Regions from separate parts of the Homo sapiens genome. Here all the other regions are linked to region 2. Evidence: promoter capture Hi-C in 16 types of primary human blood cells and fetal thymus (Javierre and others, 2016). All regions are on one chromosome and are shown on one strand. The core of a region is centred on a gene start or on the middle of the fragment in contact, and the rest is flanking DNA. Distances in the headings are between cores, read along the strand shown. Region 1 holds the start of COX6B2 (cytochrome c oxidase subunit 6B2). Region 2 holds the start of TNNT1 (troponin T1, slow skeletal type). Region 3 holds the start of TMEM150B (transmembrane protein 150B).

Region 1 (2,700 bases), core at 72-2,571, 210 kb before region 2:
TGATCCTCCTGCCTCAGCCTCCAAAAGCCCAGCCAAGTTTTTGATTTTTTTGTAGAAAAGAGGTCTCACATGTTGCCCAGACTGAAGTGCAGTGATGCCATCACAGCTCACTGCAGCCTCAAGCTACCCAGGCTCAGGTGATTCTCCTGCCTCAGCCTCCTCAGTAGCTGGAACCACAGGCACGCACCAACACGCCTGGCTAATTTTGGTATTTTTTGTAGAGATGGGGTTTCACCATGTTGTCCAGGCTAGTCTCAGACTCCTGGACTCAAGCAATCCTCCCGCCTCTGCCCCACAAAATGCTAGGATTACAGGCATGAGCCACCGCACCTGGCCGGGATTCTTAATTCGTACATTTGGCTGTCAGTGTAAACAATCCTGAGTCAGGCCTGATATTAACCAGGCAGGAGGGAGAGAAGCTTAGCAGGGATCTAGAGGTGAAACCACCTGCCCAGATTCCAGTTACTTGTCTGCCCCTAGAGCCAAGACTCATTGATTCCGCCTCGGATTTATTGTGCATTTACTACTGCCAGACTCTGCCCCAGGCAGATACAACAGTGAGCCAAACACACAGCAAGACCCGCCCTGGGGGACGCTCTCCTAAGCCAGGCATCTGCAGCTCTTAAAGCCCTGGGTACCCCTCTCTCCCTACCCTGTCCCCCAAAGCTCTCTCTGGCTTGCTTTCTCCCTGCAGCCTGCAGCACTCCCAGCACTCCGAGTGGCCGGATGCGGGGGCTTAACCTCAGTTGGAAACTGTCCAGAGGAGCCCAGCGCTGCCAGGTACCCTTTAAGACCCTGGAGATCTGCCTTAGACCTGGGGGCGGGGGGAGGGGGGCGAGGGAGGAGGGTGGGGGGGGCGGGTAACGGAGGGGGGAGGACGAGGGGGGCGGGGGGGTTCCCAGGAGCCCGGACCCCACCGCTGCTCTTTCCTCTTAACCCCACAGGCCCCGAGGGTTCTGTGCGCACCGACTGTAGGAAGCGGAATGTTGAAAGCCGCTTGGGGGGATTTGCCCCCTCTGGTAGATACCAGAACTATGGATATGCCTTTATATATTGGGGGGCGGGGGGGGGCGGGGGCGAGCCCGTGGAGCCGCCCAACTTCGCAGAGATTAAAGCTTGAGCCTGAGACTCAGCGAGTCGCACCTCGGTGCCTGTGTGCACGCGCAGGCCCCCGAGGGGGCGTCGGGGGAGCAAGGGGTGGGGTGGGGGCGCCCCTACCAGCCCCGCGGTGCACGACGGCTCCCATTGGCTGGGGCTCGGGCGTCCTAGCCAATCCGGCCGCGGGGTGCGTTTCTCCTGACCCGGGTGGGACCGCACCCCGCGGACTCAGAAGCGAGCGGCACCCCGGGACCATCCCACAGCAGATCCAGTGGCCGCCAACGTCAGGCTGGTGAGGGCACGACGGGTGGGGTTCAGGGGCGGGGGTCAGGATGGGGAGACGGGTCGGAGCGAGGGCGCCCCCTCGGCCCCACGGAGTCCCCGTCCCGTCCCGTCTCGCAGGAGTTGCCTCCTTCGTGGATGTTGGATGTGGAAGCCCAGGAGCCCCCCAAGGGGAAATGGTCGACGCCGCCCTTCGACCCGCGCTTCCCCAGCCAGAACCAGATCCGTAACTGCTACCAGAACTTCCTGGGTGAGACCTGCTCAGCCAGGTTATGGGAGGAGCAGGGTGTGACAAGGGACGGCAGGGAGGGGCACTCCCACCCTAAGTCCCGCGGAGACCGTTAGGGTGGGAGGCCGGGCGGGGCCGGGTTGGTGGGGGCGGGGCCTGGTCGAGAAAAGGCGGGGCTGAGCCTGGAGGGGCGGGGCGAGGTTGGTAGGGGCGAGGCCTGATCTGGAAGGTGCGGGGCCGAGTCGTGAAGGTGCGGGGCGAGGTAGGTAGGGGCAGGGTCTGGGTAGGAGGAGCAGTGTGAGGGAGGTAGGGGTCGGGGCCTGGCTGGGAGGGGCGGGACGGAGGCCTCCAGGGGAGAGGGAGGCGGGACGAAGCAGCGAAGAACTGGGAGGGCCCGAGCAGTGGAGGGGCGGGTCCTGTCCTGGAATGGGCGTGGCTTGCCGCGTGACCCCCGCCCGCCACAGACTACCACCGCTGCCTCAAGACCAGGACCCGCCGCGGGAAGAGCACGCAGCCCTGCGAGTACTATTTCCGCGTGTACCACTCGCTGTGCCCCATCAGCTGGGTGAGTCGGCAGAGGGGGCGCCGGGCCAGGCGTGTGCAGGGCTCGGCCGAGGCTGAGCCGGCGTCCCGCTCCCTGCCTTTCTGCTTCCCAGGTGGAGAGCTGGAACGAGCAGATCAAGAACGGGATTTTCGCCGGCAAAATCTGACTGCCCCAGCGCGGCTTCCTCTGAAGATGCAGTGATCCTGCATCTTTTTGTCTCGCGGAGCCCCGGGTCTCGGTTATCCACCCCTACCTCCCAGTGTCTAAGCCACGAATAATGGTATGCTGTTGCTGATGTTTCTTCTTAATGCCCAGCCAGCGATGCGTCGTGGTGGTGGTGGGGATCCTCCGTGTGCCTGTGTCCGGGCTAACGCTGCTTTTTCCGATAAGGGGCAGGTGGGGGACTGCTGCTCCATCAGGTAGCAGCAGGCAGTCAAGGCCCTAAGACAGGAAGCCGAATGCCTCCCGTCCCCCTTCTCCCTCTCCATTCCAGCAGGTAGATGCCTCGCGTTGACAGCTACGAGCCAGCCCAGGGTCCCCAGTTCTC
Region 2 (2,700 bases), core at 53-2,552:
ACCGACAACAGAGAGACTGAGTTGGGAGTAGAGAGAGTAGGAGCCAGGCAAAGACCCAAAGAGAGAGGGAGAAAATACCACAAGATGCATAGAAGGAAGTGCAAAGAAAGGAGAAAAGAGAGACAGAGATATACTCACAGCAAGGTGCAGAGACATGGAGACCCTATAAGAGATGGAAATGGAGAGCCACAGAGGGGGAACTGCGGGCACTAAGAGAGACATGGAGAGAACTAGAAAGATAGAGACGTGAACACAGACACAGAGACCCAGAGCCAAAAAGAGACAGAAATGGGGTCATAGGTGGACAGAAATGCACAGAGAGACTGTGAGCCCCCACAGACACAAACGCTGAGAGGGGCAGACATGCAGAGACACCCACAGAAATGCAGAGACAAAACCACCCGGAGACACATGCCGAGAAACACACTGAGGGGCTCAGAAAGCGACAGATGCAGAGAGAGCCCAAGACAGACCCAGCAAGGGGCCCCGAGAAATGCACAGAAACACAAAGACCGAGACCACCAGAGACAGAGGTACGGAGAGGCGGGGAGGGTGAGGAAGCCTGCTCTCCAGGGCTGGCTTGAACCTAGAACTCAAGGTCATGGCTTGGCTGGGAAGCGGGAGGGGGATACCAAAAAAGATCAGCGTTAGATGGAGGTGGGGAGGGAGGGTAGGTTTCACCCTAATTGACACCCCACCCTCCCCCTCCCCCTCCCCACACCTGCTTCCCGGCTTTAGTGCCTGTTGTCACCAGGATGGAATCCTGGCGGCAGACAAAGGGGTGGGGGTGGGAGGAGGAGACAAAAAGATGGACAGAGACAGAGGAGGAGACTAAGAAGTAGAGACAGACACACAGAGACACACAGATGGAGAGCCACAGAGACAACAGAAATGGGGGTCCAGAAAGAGACCTAGATAGAAAGAGGGAACAGAGAGAAGAAAACAGGAAACATTCCTTATAGCCCATGTGTCATTAGTAGGTCCTCCAAGGACCTACTGTGTGCCGGGCATGGGGACGTCAAAGCACAGGGAGCTATAAGGGAGGTAGTTGGAGCACCACGGGAGCCTGGGGTGTGGGGTGGGAGCAGGGGCGGGGCTCCTGGGCCATGCAGATGGGGTTGGCATGGGGTTGGGGAGGGGCCCACGGAGGCTTCTGGACTCTGAGTGTGGAGCCAGGGGCAGCAGGGCTGTCTCTGAACTCCCAGGCTTGTGTTTGAGCAAAGGAATTCTCTCCCCCTCCCTCTCCCCTCGGGGCGGGCCCGAGCCTCCAGCTATAAACTCCCCGGAGCTTCAGTGCCCTCAGCAAGGCTCAGCCTCAAGATTCACAGCATCTCAGACACAGCCTAGGTAAGGGGCTCTGCGGAGCCCTGTGGTCTTCAAAAACCATGTCCTTGGGGGAGGGGGCAGGAGGCAGGTGGGGAAGATGTCGGGTGTGGAGAAATGGTGCAGAGGTAGGTGGGGCATACAACTGGAGGTCTGGGAACTTGAGAGGCTCAGACTTTAGGGGGACTCAGGATAGAGGGGAAAATACTAGGATTTGTGGGTTACACAAATCCTAACCCGGGGCTGCCAGGACTTGGATGTCCCAGAATAAAACCTCCTAGGATCTTGGGGTTCTGGGAATCTGGGGGAAATCTCAGCAGTCAGGGATATCTGGACTTGGAGGTCAAACAATCTGGGTGTCAGGATTTGGGGCCTCAGACTCTGAGGGTATCAGGAATTGGGGGGGTCTCAGAAGAAATTGGGGTTTTGGTAGTGGAGGGCTCGGAATCTGAGACATTATGATAGAAAGCATGAAAACTTAGAGTGCCATTATCTGGGGTATCATGAACTGGGCCTCCGAGTTTGGGTATCAAGATTTTGGGGGTCTCATATTCTTGAGGTTTCAGATTTTAGGAGGTCTCAAGACCTGGGGGTGGTCTTAGGATGTCCCGGCCCATATCTGGACTATCAAGAACTGGGATTTCAGAATCCAGAGCTGTGAGGACTTGCTGGCCTCAGAAACACGGGCATCATAAATCGGGGTCTCAGAATCTGTGGGTATTGGGATTTGGGGCTAGGCACCCTGTGGCCTAGGGTGTCTCAAAGACTTTGAGGTCTAAGAATGTAGGGGTCAGGGTGAGGTCTACGGACAGAAGGTGCCCTTTATGCCCCTGCCCCCTACGTGATGTATGGGAAGGTGAAAGGGGAGACAGGTGGGGAGGAAACCAGCCAGTGGGGTGGGGCGAGTGGGAGAGGGGATGCGGGTGACTAATTCTCCCAGAAGCCCCCCTTCCTCAAATCCCTTCTTAGGAAATGTCCTCGGTTTCACCATCTATGACATCCCCCCAAAATAGCTCCTGGGGGTGGGGCAGCTATTGTCTTCAGGCCACTGTCCCTTCTCAAATGCCTCTTCCTAATCCCAACTGGATCAGGTTCCCATGGACTTGTCATAAGACAAAAGAGGACAGCTGTGCTGAGGGGGCAGGGTCTGCAGCCTCCTGGCTGTGCCAGGACCACACCTACCAAGGTCTGTCCTCATGCATGCTTTAGGACAGCCGGCCCCCTCCCTCAGACCCAAGAGTCCAGACCTGAGCCCTCCTCCCTCAGACGCAGGAGTACAGGCCCCCAGCCCGCTCCTCCCTCAGACTCAGGAGTCTAGACTCCCAGCCTCTCCTCCCTTAGATCCAGGAGTCCAGGCCCCAGCTCCTCCTCCCTCAG
Region 3 (2,700 bases), core at 168-2,667, 180 kb before region 2:
CCATCCTCCCCTCTTCCCACCCCTTGCAACCACTGACTTGCTTTCGGTCTCCATGGACTTGCGTATGGGTGATCTTTGCACCACATTTCCCAGCTGACCTGACCGGGGTTCTCAGAACTGCACATGGTCTGTGATTCTTCCACTCTCCCCATCTCCTTTCTCCAGTGTCAGACCCAGACCCACTCACGTTGCAGTCTGAAGTCTCTCCCAGCCACTCCTGGTCTTTCTCCTCCTTTTTCTTTTTTTCTTTTTTTTTTTGTATTTTTAGTAGAGACGGGGTTTCACCATATTGGCCAGGCTGGTCTTGAACTCCTGACCTCGTGATCCGCCTGCCTTGGCCTCCCAAAGTGCTGGGATTACAGGCTTAAGCCACCGCGCCTGGCCTTTCTCCTCCTTTATCCTTCAGCAACCTCATCCCCAGTCAATCTCTTGCTTTTCTTTTCTTTCTTTCTTTTTTGTTTTTTTGAGAGGGAGTTTCGCTCTTGTCGTCCGGGCTGGAGTGTAGTGGCACAATCTCGACTCACTGCAACCTCCACTTCCTGGATTCAAGCGATTCTCCGGCCTCAGCCTCTTGAGTAGCTGGGATTACAGGCGCCCGCCACCATGCCCAGCTAATTTTTGTATTTTTAGTAGAAACGGGGTTTCGCCATATTGGCCAGGCTGGTCTCGAACTCATGACCTCAGGTGATCCACCCGCCTCAGCCTCCCAAAATGCTGGGATTACAGGCGTGAGCCACCGGGCCCGGTCAGACAGGCATTCTTTTAGGGTCTTATGTGGATAACCCCAATAAACCCTCACAATTGCACGAGGGCAGACCATCATGATCCCTGTTTTGCAGACAAGAAAACAGAGGTCCGAGACCCATCTATCTCTAGAGGTGTACATCCCCTCCCTGGGGAAGGTTCTGAGACCTCTGTGTTCCTAGACGTCTACATCCCCTCTCTGGGGAAACTTCCAGGCAGGGGACATAGACATCTAGGGATATAAAAATAAAAATAGGCCGGCCGCGGTGGCTCACGCCTGTAATCCTAGCACTTGGGAGGCCGAGGCGGGTGGAACACCGGATGTCAGGAGTTTGGGACTAGCCTGACCGACATGGAGAAACCCTGTTTCTACTAAAAAAATACAAAATTAGCCGGGTGTGGTGGTGCATGACTGTAATTCCAGCTACTTGGGAGGCTGAGCAGGAGAATCGCTTGAACCCGGGGGCAGAGGTTGCGGTCAGCTGAGATCGCGCCATTGCACTCCAGCCTGGGCAACAAGAGCGAAACTCCGTCTCAAAAATAAAAAATAAAATAAAAAAATAAAAATAAAAATAAAAACCAGTCCCCACCACCAACCACAAGCGGTTTCCTCAATATGAAAGTGCAACGTCATCTTTCTCAGAGGAAAAGCACAGCCTCTTCCCCTCGGCTGAGCCAGGCCAGCAGCCCTAGCTTCTGGAAGGATCCTTCAGGCTCCAGACACCCAACCTACCCGTGGCCGGTGAGTGGGGCCTAATTCCCAACTTGAAAGTAGCTCGGCAGGCTGGAGCCCTGTCCCCTGTCCTCCCAGGGAGGGTCCAAGCAGGTCACATAAGCACCGTGGGGACACCAGTGAGCCAAACTCATCTTTGTGCCAGGACACCGAGTTGGGTATGGAGGCTCAGAGCGGGGACAAGTCTTCCTTAGGATCACCTGGGCTTTCTCGTCTTTATTATTATTATGTTTTTGGAAGAGAAGTGGGAATCAGCCAGGTGGCAAACACAGGACAGGGCAGGGCAGGAGATCAGTGTTGAGGGCCGACGGAGGAGCAGGTAGCATGGACCCCTCCCTCCCCTGGGCTCCCTCATAGCTTTGTGTGACTTCCTTTAGAGGAGCTGTCACCTGCTGATCATCTGTGTTGCCCACAGACAGGGATTCCCCTGAGGGCAGGGGGTGGCTCAGATTCATGTCTGGGCAAACGGAGACCTCCGGAAAAAGAAGCGAAAGGAGGAAGACGAGACCCAGAGGAGAGGCATTTGGCAGCAGAAGGGGTGAGGAGGACTTGGAGAGCTTTGCCCTCTATCAGCCCCACTGGGACAGGATTTATTTTTTATTTTATTTATTTATTTTATTTTATTTATTTTTGGAGACGGAGTCTCACTCTGTCGCCCAGGCTGGAATGCAGTGGTGCGATCTCGGCTCACTGCAACCTCCGCCTCCTGGGTTCAAGCGATTCTCCTGCCTCAGCCTCCCGAGTAGCTGGGATTACAGGTGCCTGCCACCACACCCGGCTAATTTTTGTATTTTTAGTAGAGACGGGGTTTCACTATGTTGGCCAGGCTGGTCTCAAACTCCTGATCTCATGATCTGCCCACCTCGGCCTCCCAAAGTGCTGGGATTGCAGGCGTGAGCCACCATGCCCGGCCACCCAGCTAATTTTTTTTTGTATTTTTAGTAGAGACAGGTTTTCACCATGTTGGCCAGGCTGGTCTCGATCTCCTGACCTCAGGTGATCCACCTGCCTCAGCCTCCCAAAGTGCTGGGACTACAGGCGTCAGCCACCTTGCCCAGCCGACCCTGGCTGTTTAAAAAATAAAAATAAAAAATAAAGGAATGAAACACTAATACATGCCACAACATGGATGAATCTCAAAAACATTACACTGAGCATAAAATACACCAGACGGGTTGGGCGCGATGGCTTCCGCCTGTAATCCCAGCACTTTGGGAGGCTGA

The links. The method cuts DNA at HindIII sites, captures the fragments that hold promoters and counts their contacts. A CHiCAGO score of 5 or more calls a contact.
Region 1: a contact is called between the fragment with the promoter of COX6B2 here and the fragment with the promoter of TNNT1 in region 2, in 7 of 17 cell types (non-activated CD4 T cells, activated CD4 T cells, total CD8 T cells and 4 more). The highest score is 7.7, in non-activated CD4 T cells.
Region 3: the fragment with the promoter of TMEM150B here is called in contact with the fragment with the promoter of TNNT1 in region 2 in 3 of 17 cell types (erythroblasts, naive CD4 T cells and total CD4 T cells); the score reaches 9.4 in erythroblasts.

The regions. Positions count from the first base shown.
Region 1 is chr19:55,353,340-55,356,039 of GRCh38, reverse strand. It overlaps COX6B2 (cytochrome c oxidase subunit 6B2), which reads left to right and starts at 1,321. Exons shown (of 5, transcript NM_144613.5): 1 at 1,321-1,390; 2 at 1,501-1,630; 3 at 2,074-2,174; 4 at 2,266-2,433. The coding sequence starts at 1,519. The coding sequence ends at 2,319. GARIN5B (golgi associated RAB2 interactor family member 5B) reads left to right here. Exons shown (of 11, transcript NM_001145402.2): 10 at 695-780; 11 at 945-1,132. The coding sequence ends at 740. RefSeq lists silencers at 1,737-1,786, 1,897-2,006. The HindIII fragment of the contact is 2,438 bases long and covers 1,118-2,700 here.
Region 2 is chr19:55,147,808-55,150,507 of GRCh38, reverse strand. TNNT1 (troponin T1, slow skeletal type) reads left to right here and starts at 1,302. Exons shown (of 14, transcript NM_003283.6): 1 at 1,302-1,347. The HindIII fragment of the contact is 19,232 bases long and covers 1-2,700 here.
Region 3 is chr19:55,324,058-55,326,757 of GRCh38, reverse strand. TMEM150B (transmembrane protein 150B) reads left to right here and starts at 1,417. Exons shown (of 8, transcript NM_001282011.2): 1 at 1,417-1,486. The HindIII fragment of the contact is 16,718 bases long and covers 1-2,700 here.